Linked DNA regions of Homo sapiens: regions 1, 3 and 4 are each linked to region 2. The links are contacts of gene promoters, found by promoter capture Hi-C in blood cells and fetal thymus (Javierre and others, 2016). All regions are on one chromosome and are shown on one strand. The core of a region is centred on a gene start or on the middle of the fragment in contact, and the rest is flanking DNA. Distances in the headings are between cores, read along the strand shown.

Region 1 (2,700 bases), core at 73-2,572, 150 kb after region 2:
GACTTGATGCTGAATAAAATAAGTCTAACAAATTGTAATTCTTTTTTACTCTGAAAAAGAAGTTGCTCATGTTAAAATCTAGATTATTATGACAGTAGTCTCTGAGTAGAGATATTTAAGTAACTTTTACAATATTTTAAACTTCCTTTCTTTTAACATTTGATAAATATCTTATCAGATCTTGAATAACAGATGCTCATCTCTTCAATAACTATAATAGTTATTAAAGAAATATGGAAAATTACATGAAATTAGTATATGGCCTTTTGTGATTTTTGTGGAATTTTTTTTATTGTATGAGGTACAATGCTATTAGAAATTGAATTTTAAATGTCTTGATATTTTGAAGTTTAATTTAAAATACTAAAGCTATTTCATATGTTATTTTTGTTTAACTACTTTTAAATAATAGATGGATTTTTTTGATGTGTGTTGGCATTTTTAGCTTGTTAATAGCTGAGGCTGTGTAGTATATTATTGAGCACATGCTCCAGTCAAAAAGACCTGGGTTCAGTTCCTTACTCTGGTCTAATGGCCATGGCCTTAGACAAGTTACCTAATTTCTATAGGCCCAGCATCCTCTTTTGTGAGTAAGAATTATAACAGATTGTGGAAATTAAATGGGAGAAAGCATGGAAAGACCTTGCTTAGCAGAGTACTTAGCATATAATAAGCCCTCAATAAATATTTTTCACGAAGCAGTTCTTGAGTACCTAATGTGTGCCATCTGCCTGCTAGTCACAGTGGAAACATGTATGGATATGGTGTCTACCTTTGCAGAGTGTTTAGCCCAGAAGCAGCAGTGAAAAATTGCAAAGGGATCTAACACATGTGTGCAGAAGGAACATTCTAAAGTGGCTGATTTTTACTCCTTTTAAAGAAGAGGTGGTAGTGGTTCCTTTACTTCAATCAGTAACTTGCCATTATCTGCACTTAAAAACCAAATAGCACAGAGTGAATGAGTGGTGGGCTCCTCTAGAGGGCAGCACAAGTGGGGAAAGTCAGTGCCACAGTGTAAATACTTAAAAAATAAAAGCTAGATAAAGCTCGACATCTTGCTGTATGTGTTAAAGGAGACGCAGCCAGGCAGTGTTTTGTCCCCAGTTATGAGTATTGTGCACGTGTGAGACAAGACAGGCACTAAGGCAGAGGAGGCTGTATTTCTTCTCCAGCACTGCAGGTGTGCGTGTAGTGCCTCCTGCCCCACTTGCAGCCACATTTAGGAGATGTTGACTTCGTATTTAAAAAAAAATGATATTCCCAATTTTTCTGTTCTATCCCATTTACTTATTCATTGCTTCTATTTCATATACTTTAAAAATGAGCTTAGGTCACAGTGCAGCCCCGTTTCAGGCAGGGAGACTTGAAATATGGTCCACTAGTACTTTACTAGTTTTAAGTCTGTGATACTCATTTTTGAGGAATGGATAGTCCAAGACAAGTAGCCTCTCAGGAGATAATCATGTATCTTATCAGTTCGTATGCATCCTTCTAGGTTATGAATAGCAATAGTGGCACAAAATCATGCAGATTTATTTTGTATAATATGGAAATACCAGTGTGAGTACAATTTCTAAAATATTCAGTATTCACAGAATAAAAATTAATGAAATTAAATTATTATATATCAAATACAAAAACTTACAGACTTACAAAAAGTCTGTGGATGTATAAGCAGACCTTTGCTACAGATTCGCGGCTTCTTTTGACTGAATATCGCTCCATCCTTTGCCTTCCTTAGAGTTGGCACTTCTGTTTTGTAAGGCTTCCATATCTTCCTGCCTGCCTTGCTGGCTCACCTGAGACTTCTCTAGACCACCAGCTCTGGGCAGTGTCTCTCTGGCTTTGGCTGTGGCTCCTAACTGAGGCAGTTTTGGATTTCTTCCCAGCCATCCCACTCAACAGAGAGAATGGTGACCCTGCCCTCAATTTAACTCCTCCCCTTCTCCAGTAGAAAGATCAGCCCGCTTCCAAATCTGGGTTCCTTCACCTCTGGGGTGTGGGAAGGGGTCAGGTGAGGGATGCTTAGAGGGACTACAAGCTGCCGAAGCTGGGTATTTAAGGGGTGCAGGGAGGCTCAAGGTGGGGGTTACAGGAAGAGGGTGGGGGGAGAGAGTCAGAGAACAGGAGTGGGACTGGAAAGAGCCAAGGAATACAGACAAAACTGCTGATTGATGTCTGAAATAACTGCATTACACCAACTAAAATGTCAGTATGTACTTAAAAATACTAAGTAGGCTCGGACTCTGTAATGCCAGAACTGTTTTTATTATCACTTCTTCCACAGTCACTTTTATATTTGAAATATCTAAAACTTTATCTTGCTTTATAGACCAACACACATTCAAGATCTTTCTTTTCCCTTGAGAATAGGCAGATAATGCTTTGCATAAACTAATCTCTTCTGAGAGACAGATTAGGAAATTCTGAATATTGGCACCAGTTTTAAGCCTACTTTCTTTCCCAGGATGCTTATATCTTTTGTAGGTACCTAGACTAGAAGATGACTTAGCTTTGTATAGTGCTGTTTTATGGTGTGGTTTTGTTTTTTTGTTTTTAGTCATCTTGATTTCTAACTTCAAAGTAATTGGATATGTAGGCATGAGAGTGAGTAAGATTGGTCTGGATTATATATGCAGGATTTCATACCTGATCTCACTGGACTGGAATTGTTTCTTCAATTAGTGTTTCTCTGTCTAG
Region 2 (2,700 bases), core at 99-2,598:
AATGCTAAGTAGAGAAACTTAACTAATCCATTAGAAGGAAATCACTGGAAAAGGTGAGAGGGCAGAAATGAAGAAACTTTCGAAAGCACTAAGTCTGCAGTGAGCTAGTTATAAACGTAAATCAAATGATAATTTCAAGGTTCGAGAAAATTGAATAATATGTTTATTACGGGAAAAAGAAATACGAAAAATTGCTAGCAATCTACCATTCAAAGATAACCACTGATAACATTTTGGTGTTTATGCGATTTGTAATACTAGCGTTAGTGTTGTCAATATTCAATTTTGGTAGCTTGGAAACTGTAGAGCTGTCTTCCCAAAAACTAGTTAAAGAGGCTTCTACGAAACCTGCTAGGCCACAACTAAGAGCCACTGGGCAGCAAACACAGCTGAATTGCTTAAGATTGTCAGGCACCAGTTGTACAAGACACTTTCACAAGAATCTGGAGGGTACAACAATACTTTTCATTATCTTGGCTTAAAAACCGGAAGGCTTCGGACTTGTCCTGAATCGCAGTGGTTCATAAACCTGGTGGTACATTAGAAATCATTTAGGGACCGTTTAAGAACACAGATAAGCTGGGCGTGGGGGCGGCGCCTGTCTCTCGACTCCTGAGGAGGCTGAGGCGGGAGTTCTAGGCCAGTCTGGGCAACGTAGGGGGCACCCTGTCTCTTAAAAGGAAAAAAAAAAAGGAAAAGAAAATACAAATGTTCAGGTCCCATCCCGCGAGCATTCCAAGTCTGCCCGTCTTGGGGGCTGTCGGGGAATCGGCATTTTTAAAACGGTCCCCGGGTGATTGCAATGCGCAGCCGGTCGCGAACCCTAAAACGCTTCGAGCCATTCCCGCAGGCTGGCGTTGCGTTCTGGGAGATGTGGGACGCAGCTCCCCTGGCCTCCGGTCTCCCCCGTCCTGCCCGCTGTGCGCCCGGCGAGGACAGAGTCCAGAATGTGGCAGCGGAGAGTACCTGACCGACCTACAAGGCCCCAGTGGCTGCAAGAGGCCGCGGTCCACCGCTCCCTTTCCGCCCACCGGGAGGCTGCAAAGGAAGGGCCAAGGCCAGCGAGTTACCTGAGCGGCTTCTTGGAGAGCGGGCACACCAGGAACTCCAGCAGCGCCGGATCGAAGTCGCGGGGCGGCTCCTCAGTCTTCTTGCCCCGGTCGGCCAAAGGCCGCGACCCCGACGCGTGCAGGCACCTACGGGCGACCGCGGACGGCGGCGCGCGCGTTCCCCGCAGCGCTGAGGCGAGCCTGCAGCGTGCTCCACTCAGCATGGTCTGGCAGCCGGAGACCAGGCCTCACCGCAGCCTCGCCACCCGTGGCCGAGCTCCCGGCTTCCCGTTCGTCCAGGCCAGCCGGGCAGGCCCCGCCCCCTGGTCCTCCAGGAAACGCTGCCGAGGAGTAGGCGGGGCGGGCGCTTTGGTTCCGAGGGTGCTTCTGCTCCGACTGCTTTTCCCACGGGCGTCATCTATAGTCCGGAGGACAGCCCCAGGGCAGAGGCCTCTGGTGAGTGCCCCGCCGCCTTACCAGACTACAAACTAAACCAGTGTTTAAGTCAAGGTGTCTGGGTTTTCACCGGGGCCTGTCCAAGGATGCTAGGAAGCCAGTGGCCAGGCCTCAGAGTTGTAGGGAGTTAGGCTTGGACCTACGTGGTTACCTCCAAGTGAAGTTTCAAACACACTGTTATGTATTGTACCGAATGTATTGTCATGGATGTATTGAAAGCGCTCATTTGTTTCATGTACATCTTTACTATACCATTAGTTTCTGTAACCTTGTTTGGCTTTTTTCTCTCTCATTAAAAAAAGTGAGAACCTGGAAGGAAGGGCCTAGGCCTCTGACCCTCCAAAATATATAAATTCTTCCTGCCTGAGACCCAGTCATTGTGAAGTATTTGCGTAATAAAGCACAGCTAATTTACTTCTATAAATGAGCTTGGAGGCCGCAAGGGGCCTAAATAGCTGTGTAACAGGCAGATGTGATCTGCCTGTTAAAGATCCATTCAATGAGTGGGTGATCCATTCAGTGAATTTGTATCCCAGGTTTGCTTCCCACTCTCCAAGAAAGTGACCATGTTAGATCTCTTTCTTACAGTGTAGTAGATGGGAACTTGGGCTCTGGGGCCTGACAGCTTGGTTCCCTGTCCACAATTAGTAGCTGGATGACTTTGGCAAATGACTTAACTGCTCATTTTCCTTATCTGTATAAGACTAATAATTGTACCTACCTTGTAGGTAGGGCATAAATGTGATTGTGCATTCGAAGAACATTTAGAAAAGTGCCTGGCACAAATTAATGCTCCATTAATGTTGTCTATTTTTATTTTTAGTTCATCTAGTTTTTCCATGTCCGAAGACTCAAAGATTCTCATTAGTCATCCATTTTTTCCCTCCGTTCTGCTGAATATCAACCTGAACTTTTTTTTTGCATCACTGGGCATTATCATTTCACACTTTGAGTTCCTGGAGCTGGAAGTACAGAATCCAAAAATATGTTTATATTTTCAAATTTCTCTTCCACTCCAATGTAAAAATAAACTGACAAATGTTTATATGTTCATCCTAATTTTTTGTTTGTTTTTTGGGCCATCCTGTTTTTTTTAAAAAAAACAGTTTATTTTTTGATGTTCTTTGTTCACTAATGCTCAGAAGATTTTCTAAGGTTAATGTAGTTTATAGGATACCAAAAAGGAAACACTTCT
Region 3 (2,700 bases), core at 21-2,520, 240 kb before region 2:
TTTTGAATTATATGCTTCTGGGTTTTGAATCTCTGAAGCATAGCTAAATACACCACAAAAATAATTCATGGCCAGCACAGTGGTTCATGCCTGTAATCCCAGCACTTTGAGAGGCCAAGGCTGCCAATCACTTGAGCTGGGAGTTCAAGACTAGCCTGAGCAACATGTCAAAACCATGGTCTCTACAAAAAAATACAAAAATGAGCCAGGCATGGTGGCGCATACCTGTGATCCCAGCTACTCGGGAGGCTGAGGTGGGAGGATCACCTGAGCCCAGGAGGTCCAGGCTGCAGTGAACCATGATCTCACCACTGTACTCTAGCCTAGGTGACAGCACTTTGGGAGGCCGAGGCGGGTGGATCACAAGGTTAGGAGATCAAGACCATCCTGGCTAACACGGTGAAACCCCGTCTCCACTAAAAATACAAAAAATTAGCCGGCGTGGTGGCGGGCGCCTGTAGTCCCAGCTACTTGGGAGGCTGAGGCAGGAGAATGGCGTGAACCCGGGAGGCGGAGCTTGCAGTGAGCCGAGATCGCGCCACTGCACTCCAGCCTGGGCGACAGAGCAAGACTCCGTCTCAAAAAAATAAAATAAAATGCACAATTATTGGTACACCAAACCCCCATGAAATGCAGTTTATCTGTATAAGAAACCTGTTCATGTACCCCAGAACCTAAAATAAAAGCTTTTAAAATGTGAATAATGTGTAAAGGAAATCATTATTTGGTATTTGACAAAAAATTAAAAAATGGAAAAGAATTCACCACAGAGGCTGACTTGGCATGACAGATCACTGCACAATGTACAAAATAATCAAGGGGATATGGCACTCCGTACATTCATTAAGTTGAGCTACTTCTTTATTCAGTTTATATTTTATTTTATTTACTTATTTTTTTTTAGAGACAGGGTCTCCCTGTGTTTCCCAGGCTGGATTGCAGGGACTATTCACAAATGTGATAATAGTGCACTATAGCCTTGAATTCCTGGGCTCAAATGATTCTCCCGCCTCACTGGAGTAGCTAGGACTACAGGCATGCACCATTGTGCCCAGCTCAGTTTATATTTTAAAGAATTGGACCATCTGCTGAAAACCACTGGCTATCAGAAAATTACACCCAAAACAATTCACAGGGCTTTGGGTGGGTGGGTGGTATGTATAATTGCAGAATTATTAATATTCACTAATGAATCATTTGTTGTTAAAATTAGATATGGACATTTTTGTATACTCAGAATCAGCAGTTTTCTAGAAAAGTATCTGTAGGCTACTCTTGGCCTCATGCCTAAAACATGGGCCTGGGATACTAGGATGTATTTTTTCCACAGTTCAGGCTGCTCTGTCCTGAATTGCTAGCCCAGATGTCCCTTCTCTGTGTTACCAAGATAATTGCCAAAACACTGACATAGAGAATTTTTAGGTCTGTTGCAGTGGCTCATCCCTGTAATCCCACCACTTTTGGAGGCCAAGGCAGGAAGACAGCTTGAGGCCAGGAATTCGAGACCAGCCTGGGCAAGATAGTGAGACCCCTGTTCTACAAAAAAAAAAAAAAAGATTAGCCAGACATGGTGATGTATGCCTGTAGTCCCAACTACTTGAGAGGCTGAGGTGGAAGGATTACTTGATCCCAGGCGTTTGGGGTTGCAGTGAGCTATGAACATGCCACTGCACTCCAGCCTGGGCAACAAAGCAAGACCTTGTCTCTTTAAAAAAAAAAAAGAAAAGAAAAGAGAGAGAGAGAATTTGAAATCTTGTCCTTGGATGCAATTAAACTTGCAGCAATGATTTTATTTTAAAATATGATTGTTGCTTCCCCCACCCTGTATAATTTACCTCTAAAAATTTGGAATAAATAAGCTTCAGGCCAGGCGCAGTGGCTCATGTCTGTAATCCCAGCACTCTGGGAGGCCGAGAAGGGTGGATCATTTGAGGTCAGGAGTTCGAGACCAGCCTGACCAACATGGCAAAATGCCGTCTCTACTAAAAATACAAAAATTAGCTGGGTGTGGTGGCGTGCACCTGTAATCCCAGCTACTCGGGAGGATGAGGCAGGAGAATCACTTGAACCTGGGAGGCAGAGGTTGCAGCGAGCCAAGATCATGCCACTGCGCTCCAGCCTGAACAAAAGAGCAAGATTCTGCCTCAAAAAAAAAAAAAAAAAACTTCGACCAGTACCAATGCTACAGAGATTTGAAATGTCTTTCCATTTCCACCTCCGATTATTTGACTATTATTCATTCTATTTGACCCTTATTCAAGCCTTTAATTGCATGTTTCCCATCAGAGCTGTTGTGAGAACAATCATATTTTGTAAATGTATTTTGTAAGAAAGGTTATACAAAATTGTGTTTTATTTAAATCACAAAATGCTCAAAATCAAGGAAGCGAAATATGATAGTCATTATTAGCATTGTTTGCTAAATGTTTACTGTTCTTCATCACCCAAGCCAGTAGTGCCAGGCGAAGGCAGGCATCTGTGACTTGTCCTGGTCAATGAATTGTGAGTGGAGGTGATGGGGTAATTTTTGAGTGAGCATTTCGTATCCCTGTGCAAGACCCTCCAAGGTTCACTCACCTCTGCCATTGCAACCAGCAATGTTCCAGAGAATGGCTGCTCCCTGAATGACTCCAAGGAAGAGAATTCCACTGCAAGCCTATGATAGCCATGGAACATGAACAAGAAACAAACCTTTGATGT
Region 4 (2,700 bases), core at 161-2,660, 220 kb after region 2:
TCGTGCTTCCTTATACCTGCTTTTAAAAATTTGTTTTGTTAGGTCTCTGACAACATTATGAACAAAAGGTTATTAAGAGTGACTGACAAGAAGGGTGTCTGATGAAAAGTTCTTCAGGGAAGAGAGCAGAAGCCTATCATGCTACCGTTTCCCCCACAGCTAACAACAAACATTTAAGCAATGCTTGCTGAACGGCAAGCCACCTCAAATGCTTCCCGTTGTTATGAAAAGGCAAAGCCATATTTTGGATTCCTCACGCTTCTGGTTCTGAACGGCAGCTGGAACTTCTTTACAAACACTAGTTGCACTGCATTGCAGAGAGATTGAATTCTAAGGCAGATCATTCTAGTTTCACACCTTTCATTTTATGGATGAGGAAGCCTACAGTGACAGCTTATTGGGGGAGACCTAGGGACAGGGAAGTCTCCAAACTCCAGGGGTCTTTATGCCCTATACTCTGCCCCTCCGACCCCTGGCCCCTCCACCATTCCTTCCTTTAAAGCGGTACATTAATGACTAAATTTTAGTTGCAAACCAATTTTTCATTGGAACCCAAGTAAGTTCCACATCTACTAGATAGAACTTTCTTATTGGTTAAGCCTTCAGAAAGCTTAGTTATGGTGTAAATATATACTAACCTCCTTTATCCTAAAAGTAAAGCAAGCAAACATTAGGGAACCCCATTTGTAAAATACTGAACATAGAAAATCCATTTCTAAAGCCAGATAATTGACCCCAATCAGAAAATTTACTACATCACATACCGGCCGTCCATGAATGCTTTCATAATATAACAGAGCTTTCTGCAGAGCCACTTTCTCATTAGCAATCTGGTCTTTGGTCATATCCTGTATAAACACAGGGATAGAGAATTGAAAGAGAGGAAAATGTGTGTGAACATTCCAACTTCTTTACTTAAATTACTAAAGCAAGGCTAAAAAGAACCCTCATATAACAGCTCTCCCTAGCTCTATCCAAAGTTCATTTAAAAATGGGTTACTCCTGAGCTCTTGGGAGAAACGTGGCCAGCACAGCAGAATCATCATCAGCCACCTGGATCTCCCTCACGGCAGCAAAGGTAAGGTGAACACTGAGGTAAGCAGGGCTGTGAGGCACATGGGGCTTAGCTTAATGGCCCAAGCAATGACGACGGTTATACGTTACATGGTCCCAAAGGTTTGTCTCTAATCCTTCTACCTCAGAGTCACAAAACCAGCTATTAACCTAAACAAGTTCATTCTGTAATCTATACAATAGAGTTTTGTTTTCAATCTGTAGTCAAAAACCAAAGCACCCACAGTTAACGCACTCTGCAGCTGTTTCATCAGCTTCCCTAGACACGTAACAGCCTGGAAGGCTTAACAAGGCATCATCTTCCCACTGGGATTCACGTGGCATGCCCTGTGTCTCTACCACATTGACTGCAATGGCTTAGGGCTTAGCACTTCACAGAATGATCGCACCTTAATGTCCTCAGGGCGGCTGCTTTCCGCTCGCTTCTCCTGGAGCTTCCTCTGAATAGATTCCAATGTGGCTTCAACACTGGGCTTTATTGCTTTATCCACCAGCTCTTGCTTCTTCTCATCTTCTTTCTCAAGTTGGGAACCAAAACTCTTGGGGAGTGTGTTGCTTCGCTGCCGCATCCTGGGAGTTAGGTCCTCTTCAGATATCTTTAGTTTTGATTCTAGTTGAGAAGATTTGGGGGTAAAGATATATGAGATTTATTTATTTATTTATTTTGAGATGGAGTCTCGCTCTGTCGCCCAGGTTGGAGTGCAGTGGCACGATCTCGGCTCACTGCAAGCTCCGCCTCCTGGGTTCACGCCATTCTCCTGCCTCAGTCTCCTGAGTAGCTGGGACTACAGGTGCCCGCCACCACGCCCGGCTAATTTTTTTTGGTATTTTTAGTAGAGACGGGGTTTCACCATGTTAGCCAGGATGGTCTCGATCTCCTGACCTCATGATCCTCCTGCCTCGGCCTCCCAAAGTGCTGGGATTACAGGCGTGAGCCACTGCGCCCGGCCTGATATATGAGATTTGATGTCTGCCCAACACAAATTGTTTTTCTGTAGTATCAATAACTTATTCTTTTTTCAGAGAGTATCTAGTTACAGTATCAGTAGAAATCCCTGAATTATTATGTAAAACCTGAGAGAATGGTAACATTTTCTTTGATTACATGGAATGTTTCCCTAACACTAATTGCTGAGAAAGCTTTAGCCACATCAGCCTGTATGATGCTCTCAGAATGTGGCATCCTTGCTCCTTCAGTGGTTAAAGGTATTTAGTGATCTAATGCCCAGCCACTGGCCAACCTTTTCTGTATGACTTACACACCTTATTCTGAAATTAGGTTCACTTTGTATTCTATTTAGTTGTTTACATGACTGTGTCTCTGAAAAGATGGGAATCTCTTTGAGGGATGGAGGCCATACCCTTTGCAGATTCATCTCTGTGTCTACTTGTTTGCTTCTACCACCACAGCAAATGGAGACTTGGATTAAACAGGTGTTGAGAGATGCTGACTTGAAACCATCATCCTTCTATTAGTGATCCAGGGAAATGAAGAAATGCTGCAGAATTCGCCTCTTAGCTGATCGGGTTGCCCTGTGACTGAGACCATGTGAAGACCTGGGGAAGTGGTCACTCTGAATAGCTGAGAGTGCTGGGAAGCATCTTTAAGGACCGGGGAATGCCTTA

What was found. Contacts are between HindIII fragments. The CHiCAGO score rates a contact against its expected background, and 5 or more counts as called.
Region 1: a contact is called between a fragment that was not itself captured here and the fragment with the promoter of PIGY in region 2, in 1 of 17 cell types (naive CD4 T cells). The highest score is 5.9, in naive CD4 T cells.
Region 3: a fragment that was not itself captured here is called in contact with the fragment with the promoter of PIGY in region 2 in 3 of 17 cell types (total CD8 T cells, naive CD4 T cells and activated CD4 T cells); the score reaches 5.4 in total CD8 T cells.
Region 4: a fragment that was not itself captured here is called in contact with the fragment with the promoter of PIGY in region 2 in 1 of 17 cell types (non-activated CD4 T cells); the score reaches 5.1 in non-activated CD4 T cells.

Annotation. Positions count from the first base shown.
Region 1 is chr4:88,672,143-88,674,842 of GRCh38, forward strand. All of the region lies in intron 16 of HERC3 (HECT and RLD domain containing E3 ubiquitin protein ligase 3), which reads left to right. Among named protein-coding and RNA genes, the nearest start is that of NAP1L5, 24 kb to the right of the region's middle. The HindIII fragment of the contact is 6,373 bases long and covers 1-2,700 here.
Region 2 is chr4:88,522,428-88,525,127 of GRCh38, forward strand. It overlaps PIGY (phosphatidylinositol glycan anchor biosynthesis class Y), which reads right to left and starts at 1,349. Exons shown (of 2, transcript NM_001042616.3): 1 at 1,071-1,349. PYURF (PIGY upstream open reading frame) reads right to left here and starts at 1,349. Exons shown (of 2, transcript NM_032906.5): 1 at 1,071-1,349. The coding sequence starts at 1,273. PIGY-DT (PIGY divergent transcript) reads left to right here and starts at 1,383. Exons shown (of 2, transcript NR_134663.1): 1 at 1,383-1,505; 2 at 2,338-2,564. It also overlaps a transcript of HERC3 not described here. RefSeq lists an enhancer at 647-706. The HindIII fragment of the contact is 19,176 bases long and covers 1-2,700 here.
Region 3 is chr4:88,287,255-88,289,954 of GRCh38, forward strand. The region is part of intron 1 of PPM1K-DT (PPM1K divergent transcript); the gene reads left to right. Among named protein-coding and RNA genes, the nearest start is that of PPM1K-DT, 3.7 kb to the left of the region's middle. The HindIII fragment of the contact is 1,173 bases long and covers 685-1,857 here.
Region 4 is chr4:88,746,168-88,748,867 of GRCh38, forward strand. FAM13A (family with sequence similarity 13 member A) reads right to left here. Exons shown (of 24, transcript NM_014883.4): 18 at 1,464-1,684; 19 at 765-848. Among named protein-coding and RNA genes, the nearest start is that of FAM13A-AS1, 38 kb to the left of the region's middle. The HindIII fragment of the contact is 1,604 bases long and covers 609-2,212 here.